7 separate regions of the Homo sapiens genome follow, and regions 1, 2, 3, 4, 6 and 7 are each linked to region 5. The links are contacts of gene promoters, found by promoter capture Hi-C in blood cells and fetal thymus (Javierre and others, 2016). All regions are on one chromosome and are shown on one strand. Each heading gives the region's core, a stretch centred on a gene start or on the middle of the fragment in contact. The rest is flanking DNA. Distances are from core to core; before and after follow the strand shown.

Region 1 (2,700 bases), core at 175-2,674, 430 kb after region 5:
CCTCTTTATAGCCAATGTAAAGATAACAAACAAGTGGAAAAGCTTCATTATGTCTTAAAAGTTGACCTAAGAGTCACACATATCACTTCCACTCACATGTCATTGATGGTTCCTGAACTAGTCCTATTGCCACAGTAGGAGGCAAGACTAGGAGAAAATATTACAAAGCATATATCTGACAAAATTTTTATATCTAGGATATATAAAGAACTCTGGTAACTCAATAATAAGACAGACAATTGAGTTAGAAAATGGGCAAGAGAGGCTGGGTGCGGTGGCTCACACCTGTAATCCCAGCACTTTGGGAGGCCGAGGCAAGCAAATCACGAGGTCAGGAGATAGAGACCATCCTGGCTAACACAGTGAAACCCCGTCTCTACTAAAAATACAAAAAATTAGCCTGGCGTGGTTGCGGGTGCCTGTAGTCCCAGCTACTCGGGAGGCTGAGGCAGGAGAATGGCATGAACCCAGGAGGCAGAGCTTGCAGTGAGCCAAGATCGTGCCACTGCACTCCAACCTGGGTGACAGAGCGAGACTCTGTCTCAAAAAAAGAAGAGAGAAAATGGGCAAGAGATTTGAACAGACACTTCACCAAAGAAGATATACAGATGGCAAATAAGCTCATGAGAAGAGGCTCAACATCATTTGTTATTAGGTAAATTCAAATAAACCACCATGAGATACCACACACACCACTAGAATGACTAACATTAAAAATACTATTTCAAGCCAGGTGCGGTGGCTCACACCTGTAATCCCAGCACTTTGGGAGGCCGAAGCGGGTGGATCACGAGGTCAGAAGTTCAAGACCAACCTGGCAAGATGGTGAAACCCCGTCTTTACTAAAAATACAAAAAGATTAGCTGGGTGTGGTGGCAGGCACCTGTAATCTCAGCTACTTGGGAGACTGAGACAGAGAATTTTTTGAACCCGAGAGGCAGAGGTTGCAGTGAGCCAAGATCGCGCCACTGCACTCCAGCCTGGGCAACAGAGTGAGACTCCGTCTCAAAAAATAAATAAACTAATAATAATAATAATAACTATTCCAAGTGTTGGCAATGATATGGAAAAACTGGAACTTTCATATGATGCTGGTGGGAATGTAAAATGATGCAACCTCTTTAGAAAACAGTTTGGAAGTTTTCTTATATATAAGATGTTTAACTTTTTAAAGTGATATAAATCACTGCACCCATCTATTTTAGAATATACATTTCCCAGAAATACATAGAATACTTAAGAAATTTAATTACATTCAGGTCTCAACAAATTTCAAAGGACTGGTATACTGGTATCCTATAGACCACTTTCTCCAACAACAATTAAAAATGCAGAAATCTAATTTAATGGTGAAGCATTGAATACTCTCCCTTTGAGACCAAAGAAAAGAGTGCCTGCTTATAACATTTTTATTCAATATCATATTGGATGAAGAGAAGAATAATAAAGGCATAAGAATTAGAAAAGAATAAAATATTCGTTATTCATGTATATGATTGGGCTACATAGAAAACACAAAAATCTATAAAGAAATTATTAGCTTTAATAAAAAAGTTTAGCAAGTTGCTGAATAAAAAAATTAATATACAACAGTCAATGAATTTCTACAACCAGCATCAAATTACAAAAGTAATTTTTAAAAAGATAATCATCGGTTGGGCATAGTAACACATGCTGTTGTCTTTACTCAGGAGGCTGAGGTGGGAAGATTGCTTAAGCCCAGGAATTTGAGTACAGCCTGGGCAGCATACAAAGACCCCATCCCTTGAAAATAAAAAAAAAAGATAGTCATGCTAAAAAGATAAACTGAAATGAATAAATCTAACAAAAGTGATTTATGGAGAAAATTATAAAATCCTTTTGAAAATCATTAAAGAAACCTAAATAAATGGGGAGCTTCCTGGATATCTTTTAATTTTAATATACTTTCTTCTAAAATATTCAAAATTAAAGCTAGGCATGGTGGTTAACGCCTGTAATCCCAGCACTTTGGGAGGCCGAGGCAGGTGGATCATGTGAGGTCAGGAGTTCAAGACCAGTCTAGCCAACATGGTGAAACCCCATCTCTACTAAAAATACAAAAATTAGCCAAGCATGGCGATGCACACCTGTAATCCCAGTTACTGGGGAGGCTGAGGCAGGAGAATCACTTGAACCCAGGAGGCAGAGGTGCAGTGAGCCAAGATTGTGCCATTGCACTCCAGCCTGGGAGACAAAAGCGGAATTCCATCTTGAAAAAATAAAATAAAATGAAATATTCAAAATTAACTTTTGAAAACACATATTAAAACAATTTTAAGTTTTTATGTTTTTATTATATTCATTCAAACATCACTGGTCCATTTACAGAACATCCAGACACAACTATGATTAAGTTTGGTCATGTTGATTATCTTTCCAATTTCAGTAATGTGAATTACAGAACTTTATATATTGTTTCTTTTTTTTTTTTTTTTGAGACAGGGTCTTGCTCTGTTGCCCAGGCTAGAGTGCCATGGTGTGATCATAGCTCACTGCAGCCTTGACCTTGTAGGCTCAAGCAATCCTCCCACCTCAGCCTCTTTGAGTAGCTGGGACCACAAGTGCACACCACGATGCCCAACTAATTTTTCAATTTTTTGCAGAGACAAGGTCTCGCTATATTCATCAGGCCTCAAACTCCTGGGCTGAAGCGATCTGCCTACCTTGGCCTCCCAAAGT
Region 2 (2,700 bases), core at 164-2,663, 490 kb after region 5:
GGAGGCTGAGGCAGTCAGATCGCTTGAGGTCAGGAGCTCAAGACCAGCCTGGCCAACATAGTGAAACTCTGTCCCTACTAAAAATACAAAAATTTGGCCAGGCATGATGGCTCATGCCTTAGTCCCAGCACTTTGGGAGGCCGAGGCAGGGGGATCACTTGAGGTCAGAAGTTAGAGACCAGCCCAGCCAAGATGGTGAAATCCCGTCTCTACCAAAAATACAAAAATTAGCTGGGCGTGGTGGCATGCACCTGTGATCCCAGCTACTTGGGAGGCTAAGGCACAAGAATCACTTGAACCCAAGAGGCAGAGGATGCAGTGAGCTGAGATCGCGCCACTGTGCTCCAGCCTGGGCAACAGAGTGAAACTCCGTCTCAAAAAAAAAAAAAAAAAAGGAATGGGTGGACAAACAAAATAAACCCAAATCATGACTCTTGTTCTAAGTGCTTTTCACTGTATAATACTCCTCCCTTTGCTAGTACAGATTTCATTTTTTGCATAGGCCAAATACTGGGAAACACATATAAACACACTTCACATACCGAACTCCCAAGTGGCCTTCATCTTAAGACTATATATATTTAAAACATGACTCTGGCACAAAACAACTGGAATAAGGTATTTGTAACTGGCACAGAATATTTTCTCTATGTTCTTACCAACTGCTTGTATTGGCATTCTGACAGAAGCTTCAGTTCATGTGCCTTCCTGAATACAGTCATGGTTCTTTCCAACCTCTGAAAACAGAAAAATCCCTCAGTTCATTACAAAGATCCCAGCAGGGGCCTCTGGCCTCTGACATGAACAAAAGCAGTTTTGCGCATTTCTTAAAATTCAAAGAAGCTGACTTGCTCCTGCATGGTGGTTTCACTTATGAATAGATGCAATGGGCAGCTGCACCGAACAGAGCCCAGTTACACGAGAGCCCCTCCTAACCTGGCGGCAAACCAGACTCAGACCTTTAGAATGTCACGTCACCCACAAGGAGAGAGAGAGTGGCTAAACATAAAAGTTCTCAGAAACTGTGCCAGACACCAAAAGATCTGTGCTTCTGTTCTTTCAGAAGGCAGTCACTATCTAGTCAACCACTGTAACCATGTAACAACCTCACCTTCCCTCTAAGGAACCCACTATTTGACTTCTTAGTAAATCTTTCCAAGCAAAAGGTGATGTAACACTTCCACATGGCCTCTGGAAAAGTCAGAAAGATTGTGTTGATCAGATCACTTAGTTCAACATTCATCACATCAAAGTTATTAAAAGATAAGGAAAAAAACAGTCATCCTACACCTTTACTTCAAGGGGAAAACTCTCCTCTGAAGAAGAGTTTAAATCAGCCTGATTTTAAGAAGTGTTATGCTGACTACAGCCAATCAAACACCTCAAATATTGGGGGAAAACAACTGAGTAACAGCTTAAATATAAAAATTGAAAGCCTTATCCAGGTTATATATCCCCTCTGCCTTTATTCTACATTATTACAAAATAAAAATTAAATCACTTTCCAAAGATAATTAAGGGCGAGGCAGTGGTTCACATCTGTAATCCCATCACTTTGGGAGGCTGAGGCAGGCTGATCACCTGAAGTCAGGAGTTCAAGACCAGCCTGGCCAACGTGGTGAAACCTCATCTCTACTAAAAATACAAAAATCCATGGGGCATGGTGGCATGCACCTGTAATCCCAGCTACTCGGGAGGCTGAGGCAGGAGAATTGCTTAAACCTGGGAGGAAGAGGTTGTAGTAACCCGAGATCGTGTCACTGTACTCCAGCCTGGGCAACAGCGTGAGACTCTGTCTCAAAAAGATAATTAAGGATGTCGGTAATCCTAGCAAGTTGGGAGGCCGAGGCATGCAGATCACTTGATTCTAGCAGTTCAAGACCAGCCTGGGCAACATGGCAAAACTCCATCTCTACAAAAAATACATTAAAATTGGCCTGGCGTGGAGGCATGCGCCTGTAGACCCAGCTACTCAGGGGGTTGAGGCGGGAGGATTGCTTCAACCCAGGAGGCAGAGGTTGGAGTGAGCTGAAATTGCGCCACTGCACTCCAGCCTGGGTGACACAGCAGGATCCTGTCTCAAAAAAAAACATAGATAATTAAGAAATAATAATTGAAGAATCTTAGAAATTATTTCCTAAGCTTCCCCCAAAATAGATGAACATAAATACCACTACTATGGAGGAAGGTCATAAAAGTTAGAAAGCCAAGACCAAGTTAGAAAGCCAGGCACGGCCAAATGCGGTGGCTCATGCGTGTAATCCCAGCACTTTAGGAGGCCAAAGTGAGCAAACCACCTGAGGTCAGGAGTTCAAGACCAGCCTGGCCAACATGGTGAAACTCCGTCTGTACTAAAAATACAAAAATTAGCCAGGCATCGTGGCACACGCCTGTAATCCCAGCTACTCGGGAGGATGAGGCAGGACAATCGCTTGAACCTGGGAGGTGGAGGCTGCAGTGAGCCGAGATCACACCATTGCACTCCAGCCTGGGCAACAGAGTGAGACTCTGTCTCAAAAAAAAACAAAAAACAAAAAAAACCCAGGCACGGTGGCTCACGCCTGTAATCCTGTAACCCTAGCACTTTGGGAGACCAAGGCAAGTAGATCGCCTGAGCTCAGGAGTTCGAGACCAGTCTGGGCAACACAGTGAAACCCCGTCTCTACTAAAATACAAAAAAATTAGCTGGGCATGGTGGCG
Region 3 (2,700 bases), core at 124-2,623, 450 kb before region 5:
TGGTTTTGATTGGCGTTTCCCACATGGCAAATGATGTTGAGCATCTTTTTAATGTGCTTATTGGCCATTTGTATATCTTATTTGTAGAAATGTCTATTCAGATCCTTTCCCATATTGGCCGGGCGCGGTGGCTCACGCCTGTAATCCCAGCACTTTGGGAGGCCGAGGTGGGCAGATCAGGAGTTCAGGAGATGGAGACCATCTTGGCTAACACAGATACTTTCCCCATATTTTAATTAGGTTATTTGTCTTTTTATTATTAAGTTGTAATAGTTCTGTATATATTCTAGATACAAGTCACTTATACATGTAGGATTTGCAAAAATTTGAGCTTTTGGATTTTACTGAGTGAGATGGGAAGAAATTGGAGGATTTTGAGCTGAGAAGTGATATTATTTGACTTAAGTTTTTGATTGATTGATTGATTTGAGATGGAGGCTCACTCTGTCACCTAGGCTGGAGTGCAGTGGCGTGATCTCGGCTCACTGCAACCTCTGCCTCCCAGGTTCAAGCAATTCTTTGCCTCAGTCTCTCGAGTAGCTGGGATTACAGGCGCGCACCACCATGCCTGGCTAGTTTTTGTATTTTTAGTAGACAGGGTTCCACCATCTTGGCCAGGCTGGTCTTGAATTTCCGACCTCGTGATCCACCCACCTCACCCTCCCAAAGTGCTGGGATTACAGGCGTGAGCCACCGCGCCCGGCCTATTTATTTATTTTTTGAGATGGGATTTCACTCTATTGCTCAGGTTGAAGTGCAATGGTGTGATCTCGGCTCACTGCAACCTCCACCTCCCGGGTTCAAGTGATTCCCCTGCCTCAGCCTCCCCAGTAGCTGGGACTACAGGCGTGCACCACCACACCCGGCTAATTTTTGTATTTTTAGTAGAGACAGGGTTTCACCATGTTGACCAGGCTGATTTAGAACTCCTAACCTCATGTGATCTGCCCACCTCAGCCTCCCAAAATGCTGGGATTATAGGCATGAGCCACTGCGCCCAGCCTGACTTAAGCTTTTAAAAAGCAGCACGCTGGCTGCTGCTAGGGTGAGTAGGGAGGAAGGAGGCCAGAGCAGAGGCAGAGAAATTAGTCAGGAAGCTGTTGCAATAACCCAAGTGAAGAAGAATGGTGGATCCGACCAGGATGGTTAGAAGTGGTCAGATTCTGGATATATTTTGGAAGTAGAGGCAATAGAATTTATTGAAGGATTGGATGTGGGGTGTGAGAGTAAGAGGAATCAAGGATGATTCCCAGATTTTTGCTCTATAAAACTACAAGAATAGATTTGCTATTTACTAAGGTGGCAAAGACTTAGACCCCTAAGGGGATGCTCAAAAGTCCTTTTTATTTTGAGATGCCTATGAGTCATCCAGTAGAGACATGGGGAAAGAAGTTGGATGTATGTTTCCTGAATTCTAAACCCAAGTGGCAGAAGTTGGATGTCTGATTTGGAGGCTTGGAGAGAGTTTGGAACTGGAGTCGTCAGCATGTAGACTGGTTTAGTAATGGGACTGGCTAGGATCACCTAAGCAGGAAAAAGGTGTTCAAGGACTGAGTATTTTGGTTATGTGTTGCTGAGTAACAAACCATCCTAAAACTTAATGGCTTAAAATATCAATTTACTATTTCTCACAATCCTATGGGTCAGGAATTTGAGGAGGCCTCGGCTGTTCTGGTGTACTCCATGTGGCATCAGCTGGGCTACTCTGCTGCCCTTAGCTGGCCAGAGACCCAAAGAAGCTTTCACTCATGTCTGGTGCCTTGGTGTACTCTATATGGGGGCTCTGTCTTTCTCATTCAGGAGTCTAGCTTAAGCTTTCTTGTGGCTTGGCTGCTGACTTCCCTAAACAAAAGCAAATGCTACCAGACCTCTGGAAGGCTAACCAGGAGCTGCATTCTGTTGGTCAAAGCAAGTCATGCAACAAGCCCTGATTCAAGGGGAGGGGAAATAGATTCAACCTCTTCATGGATAGAGGGTCACGTATACACTGGGAGGGAAAGACTGGGTGAGCGCCATCTTTGGAGACCATCTACCCCATTGAGCCCTGGGGCATTCCAGTATTTAAAGGACAGAAAGATAAGAAGTTTTCAGCAAAGAGAATGTGAAATTGTGGCCAACAAAGTAAGAGAAGGATAAGCTCTGAGCACTTTAGCCTTCACCTTACTCTATTTCCTATATGTAGAATTATTATATATTCCCCCTGTTGCTTTTCTAGGCAGACCAGAGCAATGCTAAAAGGTCTGTCTATGGGGAGGAGAAGGGAGGATGAAGAGAAGTGGGTTAAAGGGTACAAACATTGTAAGATGCAAGGAATAAATTCAATATTTGATACCAGAGTGGGGTAACTATGCTTAACAAAAATACTCTGGTGACCAACACCCTAAATATCCTGGCTTGATCACTACACATTATATACATGTAGCGAAATTTCACATGTACCCCATAAATTTGTATAAATAATAATATAAAAGGTCTGTCCAATGTGGCCACAGTCTGGGACCAAGTAAAAAGTGTTAAGGGATGAAGAATCTTTACCCTCCAAGTTAGAGGAAGAATTTTTTCCCAGTCTTCAATGTAAAGCACTGAAAAATGTGGCTTTTTCAACATTTTTGCTGAAATGGTACAAAAGGCCGGAAGAGAAAGCGCTACTGCAGTTAGGAAAGGTCACCAAACCCCAGCAGCTGCTGCGAGTTGGTCTCT
Region 4 (2,700 bases), core at 162-2,661, 460 kb after region 5:
ATGTCTAGGGGACAGATCCTTGCACTTATTTTGTTTAAAAACACACACAGTTCTCCTTTCCTGAAGAATTGTAAATGCGTTCATTCGGAACAGCTGAGAAGCTATGCTTCTCAGACAAGGGTTCTTAGCAGTGAAGAAGCAAACTGGATAACACAGCACTTCTATCTGCAGCTGCTCAATTCATAGCAGAGATTTTTGGAGAGAGTAACAGTTTTGACTTTAAAACAGTGATACATTATGGAGTCAAATGCAAAATTTGGATTTTTTCAATATAAAAGAGAAGGTGTCACAGAAATTGGAGACCTGTAACAGATACCAGCCTAAGCTCATAGATGTGGACCCCTGTTCCAAACTGCCTTCAGGGCTGGTCTGACAGGTGTGTCTGAGAAGGCCTAGTTCAGGACCCCCAGAGACTCCACACCTACCATATGGATTCCCTTGATCTGCTTTCAACTCCGAGTCCCAGTCCTCATTAAAAAGATCGCCAGGCTGTTCCTTGGGTGGACAGTTTGTCCCTTCTGACAGCTCCCAGGTATTCAGTTCTCCATCAGAGTCCTCCTCATCCATGGCAAAGCCTTCCTCTTCAGAATGGGTGCCCTCACCCCGGGCAGGACTGTCATTAGGAATGCTCTGTGTTCCACGGGCTAAATTGACAAAGAGAAGATGGCCTTAGTGACAAACCAAAGAGGACCTGCTCTGTGCTCAGTAAATTTTGGGCAGACTTACTACGAAGGTAGTAAAACAAGTGCACAGAGTCTTCTTTAGCCACCGAGCACTTTTTTAAAAATGCACTTCTTTGTATGTTTTTAAAAGAGCTGATAATTTATTTTCAATAAGACGTTTTGTCTTATACAAGGCATTAATTGTCAGGTCCTTTAATTTACAAAGAGGGCTAGGGACAGTTAACATTTTCAGGTGGTTTGTATGTCACTGAGGCAAAGGGCCTCTGATAAATAATACACTTTCACAATACAAGCCTGAATTAAGTTTTTGCTCTTTTTTTTTTTTTTTTGAGACAGAGTCTCGCTCTGTCGCCCAGGCTGGAATGCAATGGCACCATCTCGGCTCACTGCAACCTCTACCTCCCAGGTTCAAGCAATTCTCTGCCTCAGCCTCCTGAGCAGCTGGGATTACAAGCGCCCGCCACCACGCCCAGCTAATTTTTTTGTATTTTTAGTAGAGACGGGGTTTCACCATCTTGGCCAGGCTGGTCTTGAACCCCTGACCTTGTGATCCACCCGCCTCGGCCTCCCAAAGTGCTGGGATTACAGGCGTAAGCCACTGTGCCCGGTTGTTTTTGCTCTTTTATTCCTCCCTTCAGCCTCAAAGAGCATGTTAGAGGTGAGCACAGGGACAAAGGGGAGCAGGGGCACTGCAGGCAGAAGACCAGAACCCATCTAATCACAATGGGCAGCACCTAGTGCCTCCCTCTGACATCAGGGAGGCCGGAAGGTACATTTTCAAAAGGCCTCACAATAACGGAGGAAAGACTGGGGAAAGATAATGGATTTCCGAGCACATAGTGCTTTGGTGATGCCAGGTCCCAGGAGAGAAGGCAATCAGCCTAAAACAGCCATGCTCTTAATACTGGAACAACAGTAACAGTGATAAGCAATAAAGTGATAGTTCAGAGCAAGGGGTCTAAAGCCAGACTGTCTGATTTCAAATCCGTGTTTTGTCAATTACCAAACATCGGACTGGGCCGGGCACGGTAGCTCACCCTTGTAAACCTAGCACTTTGGGAGGCCAAGGTGGGTGGACTGCTTGAGCTCAGGAGTTCAAGGCCAGCCTGAACAATGTCGCAAACCCTGTCTCTACAAAAAATTCAAAAAATTTAGCTGGGTGCAGTGGCATGCACCTGTAATCCCAGCTACTCAAGAGGCTGAGGTGGGAGGATCGCTTGAACCTGGGAGGTGGAGGCTGCAGTGAGCCAAGATCGTGCCATTGCACAGAGTGAGACCCTGTCTCCAAAAAAAAAAAAAAAAAAAAAAAAAAAAGTGTGATTGAGCTGAAATTTACTTAACTAGTTCCATAACATAAATATAGAATTACCATATGACCCAGCAATCCCAGTCCTAAACATATACCCAAAAGAACTGAAAACAGCTGTTCAAATAAAACAAGGATACTCACAGCAGCACTATTTACAATCACCAAAAGGTAGACACAACATCAAATGTCCATCAATGGATGAATGGAAAAACAAAATGTGGTATATGCATATGATGGAATTATTCAGCCATAAAAAGGAATGCAGTGCTGATACATGCTACGGCATGGATGCACCTTGAAAATACGCTAAGTGGAAGAAGCCAGACACAAAAGGCCACATATTGTTATGATTCCCTTTACAGGCAACTCACATTTGCCTATCCAGAACAGATAAACCCACAGAGACAGAAAGCAAATTAGTGGTTGCCAAGAGCTCAGAGAAGGAAGGAATGGAGAATGACTACTTGGTGAGCACAGGGTTTCCTTTTAGGGTGATGAAAAGATTCTGGAACTAGGTAGTGGTGATGGTTGCACAACACTGCCATTGTGCTAAAAGGCTACTGAATTATATGCGTTAAAATGGTTACATGGTAAATTTAGGTTATGCATCTTTTACCACAATTTTTAAATTGTTTTTATTTAACTGTTCTGTGCCTCAACTTCCACATCTGTAAAATGAAGATAGGGTTGTTGTGAGAGTTAAAAGAA
Region 5 (2,700 bases), core at 124-2,623:
TCACATAATGGGCGGGCCCATCCCCTCTGGGTGGGGCTTCCTCTGGGCCCACTCTTGCCTGGAGATCAGGGACTTGAAGGTAATTAAGACATATCTTGCCCTGGAGGGCTTCCCAGCATGGTAGGGGAAATGGGCATCCCACTAGAGAATTAAGAATTAACTGGGCACCTGGAAGAAGGGCTTAGAACTCAGAATAGAAGATAAGATGGCGTGCCATCAGAGAAGCCTTCCCGGAGGAGGAAACCTCTGTGCTGAGCATGACAGCATAGGTGGGAGTAGACTCAGCCAAGGCCTTTTTTTGGGTTGGGGCCAGTCGTTGCCACAAAGACCTGATGTGCCGAGCAAGAAGGTGGAGAGAAGAGCCCGGCCGGGTCCTGCAGGGCCCCGAGGCTGGGCTGGGAAGTTAGCACAAGCTGGGGTGGAGGCTCCGCTGAGCACTAATGGGAGGAGGCCAGGGTCCTGACCTAGAGCCTGCGGCCAGCGGGACAGAGATTCTGTCCTGGATTCTCTGAGCTTGGGGCATGCGGGCTGCCAGGGAGGTGTGATGGTGGGAACCCGGCGAAAGGGAGGAAGCCTCTTCCAGGCGTGGAGCAGCCTTGGGCCCTGAACAGGCAGGCCTCTGGAAGCGCCTCGCTTTTCCTCCCTCCGGCCTCATCCTGGTTTTCTCCTCATCTCCCCGTCGCAGGGTCCCGGGTCCAGGCTGGGGTTCAGTTGCCTGCTCCTCCTCTCTGTGCCCTCCCCCGCCCGATGGCCCCACAAGTGCTGTCTTGCAGGAGAGCGCCGGGAGACCGCAGGGCGGAGGTGAAGAACGGAGTCCAGAGCCCTCCAGAGATGGCAGCGAATCCCGGCCCTGCCTCTTGCCAGCTGTGTGGCCTAGAGTGAGTCCGACCTCTCTGGGCCTCAGCTTCCTCCGGGATGAATGCAGTCACGGAACGCGCCAATGCAGGAGGCCCCCAGGACATCCTGAGCGCTCGGGAGACGCCAGGCGCGGCAGCGGGCACGGATAGCGGAAAGGGGCGCGACCCCGCGGAATCCTCCGGCAGGGCAGGGCCTTTGGGTGGCTCCGGGTGTCCAGAGGAAGGGGTGGGCTCGGGGACGCGGAGGGAAACTGGGGACGCGGAGGGAAACTGAGGTCGCGGAGGACGCGGCCGTTGGCAGCTCGCTGCGCCTGCCGGCCCCGCGTGGGCCGCCCCACTCGGGAGGACGCGGGCTCCTTTTGTCTGCAGCGTCCCCGCCGCCGCCGCCCCCGCCGCCTCCCCCTCTCCCTCCCATTTTCGCCGCGGCCCCCGCCCCTCCCCTCCCCGCCCCCTATTGCCCCTCCTCCTTCCCCTCCCCACTCTTCTCCTTCCCTCCCCTCCCCTCCCTTCCCCTCCGGAGCGGCTGGGGCTGCGGCGCCGCTGCTGACACGGATCGGCCGCGGCCGCCACCGGGCGGAGGCTGCGCGGCGCAGACCCAGACGGGCGGCCCCGGAGGGCGCGCGGCGATGGCGGCGGCGGGCAGGCGGCGGGCGCGGCGGGCGAGGGGTCCGGGCTGAGCTGCGGGCCGGCCCGGATGGCGGGCGGCGCGGGCTGGTCGGGCGCCCCCGCGGCTCTGCTGCGCTCCGTGCGCCGCCTGCGCGAGGTGTTCGAGGTGTGCGGCCGCGACCCCGACGGCTTCCTGCGCGTGGAGCGCGTCGCGGCGCTCGGACTGCGCTTCGGCCAGGGCGAGGAGGTAAGCTGGCCCGACCCCAGTCCCGGCCCGGGGACCCCAGCCCAGCCCCGCCGCCCCTCCCCCAGCTCCCCCGCCGGGTCACCCGCGTGGCCCGAGGCGGTGGCCTCCCTCCCAATCCCCTCCCTCCGCCGGAGCCCAGGACCTCGGCCCCCCCCGGGTATCCCTGGCCCAGCCGGGCCCTCGCTTTCCGCCCCCCGGCGCCCGTGCCCCGAGCGTCACGCGTCACGCCTAGGGTGGCTTCTGCGCCCACCTTCCTTCCTCGGCCATGCAGGTCCTTCTGAGCGGTCTGCACATCCACCCTTGTCTGGGGGAGAGAGCTGCCAGAATCCGGCCCTAGGCTCCCCACCCCACCCGGCGCTGCGGAGACCAAGATGCAAGGGTCTGTGTACGTCCTGCTGGGCCGGGCCAGGGGGTGAAAGGGACCGGTAGGGGTGCTCTGCAGCCTTGGCTCCTCGGCTGCACACACCCTGCCCAGACACGGAAGGAGGTGTCTGCTGGGGCCACCGTGTACTCCCGGGCCAGTGTCGGGTGACCTCTCATTCAGGCTCTGCTGGGCAGCCAGGCTGGCAGCTGGCTGTGTTGGTTGCAGCAGGCCAGGCAAAGCCAGGCTCGGGGAGTGGTGGCTGAGCAGAGGGCTTTCATGTGGCGGGGCCGCATCTATTTGGGGAAAGCAGGACTTACGTAGATTGTTAACAGGGCTGGAAGCGGAGGGTCGGTGCCGCCAGTAGGGTGGACGGAGTCATATCACTAAACGCACACTACACCAGTGTCCTCTGGTGCCACCGGCATGGGGACTGGGGACTGTGTCTCAAGGGGAGGACAAGACACCCACCTGGCTGAAATGGTCAGGGGTTTCCCCTGGAGCCAAAAGCCCTGAGAAGTGGGTTTCCAAGGCCATCTAAGGCCTCAGGCCCTGCATGGGGGGCCTGGGGCCATGGGCCTCAAATGGGCACTGGCTGGCATTGTGTTCCCAGAACAGGTCGGACCAGG
Region 6 (2,700 bases), core at 142-2,641, 390 kb before region 5:
CTTAGTGAAGAAAGAGTGAAAAGTCCACAGTGAGAACATGGAGGTGCACATACCTGGGCTGCAGGCACACTGCCTCTGCCTGATCCAGTCCTGACACTGAAAAATGTGTAGATGATAAGAAGACAAGCCAGCCATGTGCCTTGACCATGATGTTTGGAGACCTTCAGTTTGCCTTTTTCTGATGGGACTTTCCTCTGTTAATTTTTTTGTTACTTAGGAGAACTCCTGGAAGCCCCGTCTTCCTCCTCATGCCCATTGCCTGACCAGAGCCACCCTGCACTCAGGAGAGCTTCTCGGTTTGCTCAGTGTAAGTATGTGGTCCACTTTAAACATGGGTTTGGCTTGCCGCAGAGCGGGCTTCGAGAATATCCTACATCCATCTCCCTACTGCTAGGGCCACTCCTTGGCTTACTGCACATGGATTTGTTCCAGGTCCCTCCACGGGGGGAGCTGATTGCAAAGGCAAAGCAGGTTGAGACTCTAGACCCAAGAGCACTCAGAGTCCCGCCAACCTTTGAGCATCTCTGCTGTGGCCACCAACTACAGCCAACTGCCTGTTCCCAAACCTGCTGAGGTATTTCTGCATCTGTGCTGTGGCCACCAACTATAGCCAACTGCCTCTTCCTAAACCTGCTGAGGTATTTCTGCCATCTCAGTCTGGGATAGTCCTTAAGAGCATGGATCCCAGAGCCAGACTGCTTGGGTTTGACTCCCAGCAGCTCCACTAACTAGCTGTGTGATCTTGGGCAAGTCACTTAAGCTTCCTAGAGCCTGGGTTTCCTCATCTGTAAAATGGAGATAATATAGTACTTCTCTTGCGGGATTGCCATGAGGGTTAAGTGAGTGAGTATGAGTAAAACACCTAGAGTAGTCATGCTGTATAAGTGTTAGCAATTTATTCACTCAATAGGAAACCAAATGAAATATACAAAGTGAGTAAGACATGGTCCTCAATCAGGAAGTTTCAGTTTAACTGGGAAGGTATAAACAGCTGTGGTCATAAATCACCATAAGACGGGCGTGAGCCACCGCACCTTGCCTACGCCCAGCTAATTTTGGTATGTTTAATAGAGACAGGAGTTGGCCATGATGGCCAGGCTGGTCTTGACCTCCTGGCCTCAAGTGTTCCACCTGCCTCAGCCTCCCAAAGTGCTGGGATTACAGGGGTAAGCCAGTGCACCTGGCTGAAGGAGCTGGCCTGATTTTTAAAATTGACATATAATAATTGTATAGTCTGGGTGCAGTGGCTCATGCCTGTAATTGCAGCACTTTGGGAGGCTGAGATGGCAGGATTGCTGGAGCTCAGGAGTTCGACACCAGCCTAGGAAGCATGGCAAAATCCTGCTTCTTTTCTAAATAAATTTTAAAAATAAATAAATATAATAAGTGTACATATTTATGGGATACATAGTGATGTTTCAATACATATGGTGCATAGTGATCCGATCAAGGTAGTTAGCATATCTATCATCTGAAACATTTATCATTTCTTCCTGTTGGGTGATGTAGCAATTTTAATGCTAGTGTGAGTGAAACATCACACCAAAAGATACAAAGTTGCTATTTGAAGACTTCTTAGCATGGACCATCAAAAGATGACCGGCCATGTTCTTATTGTTCTTTTTTTTTTTCCAAAGGGGCCATCCATCCAACCTTTAACTTGAAGAGCCTTTCCTGCAGCCTGGAGGTGTCCAAGGATTCCCGTACAGTGACTGTGTCTCACCGCCCACAACCCTATCGCTGGAGCTGTGAGAGGTTTTCTACCAGCCAGGTCTTATGTTCCCAGGCCCTGTCTTCTGGAAAGCATTACTGGGAAGTGGACACTAGGAATTGCAGCCACTGGGCAGTTGGGGTGGCTTCCTGGGAGATGAGCCGCGACCAGGTCCTGGGAAGGACTATGGACTCTTGTTGTGTGGAATGGAAGGGGACTAGCCAGCTCTCTGCATGGCACATGGTCAAGGAAACTGTCCTTGGCTCAGACAGACCTGGGGTGGTGGGCATCTGGCTGAACCTTGAGGAGGGAAAGCTTGCCTTCTATTCAGTGGACAATCAGGAGAAGCTTCTGTATGAGTGTACCATCTCTGCCTCCTCTCCTTTGTACCCTGCCTTCTGGCTGTATGGCTTACATCCTGGAAATTACCTGATAATAAAGCAAGTAAAGGTGTAAGGTTTCCTAAGGGATTACAACACAGTGGTTTCCTGGTCTCTCTCCCTGTCATCAATCAGGGTAGTAACTTGACTTAAGAATACCACTTTTTAGAAAAATTACGATAGAGATGGGATCTCACTAGGTTGCCCAGGCTGGTGTCGAATTCCTGGTCTCAAGCAGTCCTCCCACCTCAGCCTCCCAAGGTGCTGGGATTACAGGTGTGAGCCACCACACCTGGCCAAGAATACCACTTTTGAAGTTAATCCTTTTGTGTGATACAGGATGAACTTGGGATGTTTGAACCCTGGACATTCCAAATAAAGAATAGGCCCCTGCCTGGCTCCTGGGAGATAACCTCTAAGCCATTAGAATATCTTGCCTGATAAGAGTGTTTTTGTTTACCTGTGGGCCTTGGGCCATGCAGTATCAGCTTGACCTTGCAAGGTCAAGCTGAGGAGACTAAGTTAGCCATGTGGGCAGTGAAGCATGCCAATGTGATCAATCCCTAGTAAAAGCCCTGGACACCTAGGCATGGGTGAGCTACTCTGGTT
Region 7 (2,700 bases), core at 190-2,689, 440 kb before region 5:
GCCTTGGGCAGGTGGAAAAAGCAGTCAAAGGGTTGTTTTCAGAGAGGCGCAGCCCCTCCGCCTGGTTCTTGTTGCTGGGCTTTCTCTCCCTGACCTAGGTTAGAATTTGGCCAAGGCCAGCACTTTCAGCCTTGCCAAGCAGTAGCCACTTCTGATTTTTTCCAACTTCCTTTCCGGCTTCTTTGTCTACAGCCTGAAAAAGAGGAAGGTGCCTCTTCCAAGTTGAGGCAGCAGGGTGAAGCTGGCAAAGGGTATGGTGGGGTTGGAAGGGGAATGGGCAGAACCTTCAGAGCCTGAGGGCTCCTATCCAGGCCCCAGGGAGAAGCACTAGGATGTCTGACTGAGGAGGCTGGGCTGGAGAACCAGTGGGACTGGCCAGCTCCTTTGGTTTGGGCTGGGCTGGCCCCTGACCTCTATCCTCAGAAACTGACCTGGTCATCTGTGGTAAGAAGTTCCCTCTTTTGCAGCAGAAAGAACCTTTCAAGAAAAGGTGGTTCGCCCTGGATTGCCATGAGCGGAGGCTGCTCTATTACAAGAACCCACTGGTAAGAGCCACTCCTGCTCCCTCCCCAGGGCTTCCTCAAACATTGCTGGGTGGTGCTTGTCTGGAACTATGTGAAAGCTACAGATAAACACATCTCCCAGAGCCCCAGAGCTAGAGAAACCTTGAGAGGAAAACCTCTACCCCTTGTTTTTGTTTCTCTTGAGTAATCTCCTATGGCATGAAGCTTCTCCTCGCTTTCAGGAAGTCTATTATGAGTATCCAAAATGCTGCCCATGGTAGTTAAATATGGTGTATCTCTTCCTCTAGTCTCCAGGGCTCACTTCTAACCAAGAGGCCGTGATGTGTAGTAGTTAGGAGTGTGGTGGACTCTAGAACCCCACCGTCTGGGCTCTGGTCTCAGCCCTGCCACTTGTAGTAGTGTTGCCTTGAGCCGTGTACTTAGTGCTCTGTGCCTCGGTTTCCTCCTCTGAAAAACAGGCTTAATAAGAATGCCTTCCCCAGAGGTTGCCATGATGGTTATTTAAGTTACTATATATAAAGCATTGTAATTCCTGATGCTGATTTTAATAAGTGCTCCGTAAATGTTAGGTATCACTTATTTTTTTTTTTTTAGAGACAGAGTCTCTCTCTGTCACCCAGGCTGGAATGCAGTGGCACAATCACAGCTCATTGCAACCTTGAACTTCTGGGCCCAAGTTATCTTCCTGCCTCAGCCTCCTAAGTAGCTCAGAATACAGGCATGCATCACCATGCCCAGCTAATTAAAAAAAAAAAATTTAGGGCTGGATGTGCTGCCTTTTGTCTGTAATCCCAGCACTTTGGGAGGCTGAGACAGGAGGATCGCTTGAGCCCAGAAGTTCGAGACCAGCCTGTGCAACATAGTGAGATCCCATCTCTACAAGAAACTTAAGGCCAGGCACGGTGGCTCACATCTGTAAACCCAGCATTTTGGAAGGCTGAGGCGGGGCAGATCACGAGCTCAGGAGTTCGAGACTAGCCTAACCAACATGGTGAAACCCTGTCTCTACTAAAAATACAAAAATTAGCCGGACGTGGTGGTGCGTGCCTGTAAGCCCAGCTACTCAGGAGGCTGAGGCAGGAGAATCGCTTGAAACCGGGAGGCAGAGGGTGCAGAGGGTGCATGCCATTGCACTCCAGCCTGGGTGCAGAGTGAGACTCCGTCTCAAAAAAAAAAAAAGAAAGAAAAAAAAAGAAACTTAAAAATTAGTCAGGTGTGGTGGTGCATGCCTGTAGTCCTAGCTGCTTGGGAGGCTGAGGTGGGAGGATTGCCTGAGCCTGGGAGGTTGAGGCTGGGATGAGCCATGATTGTGCCACTGCACTTCCAGCCTGGGTGACAGAGTGAGGCCCTGTCTCCAAAAACAATTCATAATAATAATTAATAATTTTTTTTTGTAGAGAAGGGGTCTCACTATGTTGTCCCGGTTGGTCTCATATTCCTGGCCTCAGGCAATCCTCTGCCTTGGCTTCCCAAAGTGCTAGGATTACAGGCATGAACTACCAGGCCCACCCTCGGTATCTTTTCAATAGATGATGTGTATGATTTATTTTAGGGTTTTGATCTTTCAAATTCTGGGTCCCACTTAGCAGAAATCCCAGCAGGGACCTCATACCCCTTTCCCAAAATAAAGCTTGGAGGCTGTCAGGGCTGCAGGGCCCCTCTGCCCTGGGGGCACCCTCTGATGACCCTGTACTCTCCATTTTCAGGATGCCTTCGAGCAGGGCCAGGTTTTTCTTGGGAACAAGGAGCAGGGATATGAAGCCTACGAAGACCTGCCCAAGGGCATCCGAGGAAATCGCTGGAAAGCCGGACTCACCATTGTCACCCCAGAGCGGAGATTTGTCCTCACTTGCCCCAGTGAGAAGGAACAGCAGGAATGGCTGGAAAGTTTGCGGGGTGTCCTGTCCAGCCCCTTGACGCCCCTCAACCGGCTTAGTAAGAAGCAGGAACTGAGGGGTGTTCTTTTGGACAAGGGCAGAGGACAGAAAATTGCTTCTTCACTTAGGTTCAGCTTTGATACCACAAAAGATTCCTGATTCCTGACTATGCTCTTTTCATTGTCTTCTCTTCCTGCAAAAGAAAAGCACAGACATGCCATTATTGCCAAAAGGTCTCCTCTGTCCACTCTGGGTTCCCCTAACCGAGCCCTTCCCCAGGAGCTTTTAGAGGAGTTTGG

Evidence for each region. Contacts are between HindIII fragments. The CHiCAGO score rates a contact against its expected background, and 5 or more counts as called.
Region 1: a contact is called between a fragment that was not itself captured here and the fragment with the promoter of RAB11FIP4 in region 5, in 5 of 17 cell types (M2 macrophages, M1 macrophages, neutrophils and 2 more). The highest score is 10.5, in M2 macrophages.
Region 2: a contact is called between a fragment that was not itself captured here and the fragment with the promoter of RAB11FIP4 in region 5, in 2 of 17 cell types (endothelial precursors and neutrophils). The highest score is 7.7, in endothelial precursors.
Region 3: a fragment that was not itself captured here is called in contact with the fragment with the promoter of RAB11FIP4 in region 5 in 2 of 17 cell types (erythroblasts and megakaryocytes); the score reaches 8.5 in erythroblasts.
Region 4: a fragment that was not itself captured here is called in contact with the fragment with the promoter of RAB11FIP4 in region 5 in 10 of 17 cell types (M2 macrophages, M1 macrophages, M0 macrophages and 7 more); the score reaches 13.4 in M2 macrophages.
Region 6: a fragment that was not itself captured here is called in contact with the fragment with the promoter of RAB11FIP4 in region 5 in 9 of 17 cell types (naive CD4 T cells, erythroblasts, naive CD8 T cells and 6 more); the score reaches 9.4 in naive CD4 T cells.
Region 7: a contact is called between a fragment that was not itself captured here and the fragment with the promoter of RAB11FIP4 in region 5, in 2 of 17 cell types (endothelial precursors and naive CD4 T cells). The highest score is 5.9, in endothelial precursors.

The regions. Positions count from the first base shown.
Region 1 is chr17:31,815,538-31,818,237 of GRCh38, forward strand. No RefSeq gene overlaps it. Among named protein-coding and RNA genes, the nearest start is that of COPRS, 42 kb to the right of the region's middle. The HindIII fragment of the contact is 2,768 bases long and covers 41-2,700 here.
Region 2 is chr17:31,877,591-31,880,290 of GRCh38, forward strand. UTP6 (UTP6 small subunit processome component) reads right to left here. Exons shown (of 19, transcript NM_018428.3): 12 at 1,112-1,191; 13 at 660-737. Among named protein-coding and RNA genes, the nearest start is that of COPRS, 20 kb to the left of the region's middle. The HindIII fragment of the contact is 1,453 bases long and covers 688-2,140 here.
Region 3 is chr17:30,936,519-30,939,218 of GRCh38, forward strand. All of the region lies in intron 5 of ADAP2 (ArfGAP with dual PH domains 2), which reads left to right. Among named protein-coding and RNA genes, the nearest start is that of ADAP2, 16 kb to the left of the region's middle. RefSeq lists a silencer at 1,764-1,964. The HindIII fragment of the contact is 727 bases long and covers 1,011-1,737 here.
Region 4 is chr17:31,852,387-31,855,086 of GRCh38, forward strand. It overlaps COPRS (coordinator of PRMT5 and differentiation stimulator), which reads right to left. Exons shown (of 4, transcript NM_018405.4): 3 at 426-644. Among named protein-coding and RNA genes, the nearest start is that of COPRS, 5.5 kb to the right of the region's middle. The HindIII fragment of the contact is 7,003 bases long and covers 1-2,700 here.
Region 5 is chr17:31,390,302-31,393,001 of GRCh38, forward strand. It overlaps RAB11FIP4 (RAB11 family interacting protein 4), which reads left to right and starts at 1,374. Exons shown (of 15, transcript NM_032932.6): 1 at 1,374-1,710. The coding sequence starts at 1,552. RefSeq lists an enhancer at 589-1,178. The HindIII fragment of the contact is 11,828 bases long and covers 1-2,700 here.
Region 6 is chr17:30,997,025-30,999,724 of GRCh38, forward strand. RNF135 (ring finger protein 135) reads left to right here. Exons shown (of 5, transcript NM_032322.4): 4 at 218-307; 5 at 1,638-2,700. The coding sequence ends at 2,167. Among named protein-coding and RNA genes, the nearest start is that of RNF135, 27 kb to the left of the region's middle. The HindIII fragment of the contact is 1,266 bases long and covers 759-2,024 here.
Region 7 is chr17:30,954,011-30,956,710 of GRCh38, forward strand. It overlaps ADAP2 (ArfGAP with dual PH domains 2), which reads left to right. Exons shown (of 11, transcript NM_018404.3): 9 at 468-545; 10 at 2,231-2,459. Among named protein-coding and RNA genes, the nearest start is that of RNF135, 16 kb to the right of the region's middle. The HindIII fragment of the contact is 1,426 bases long and covers 727-2,152 here.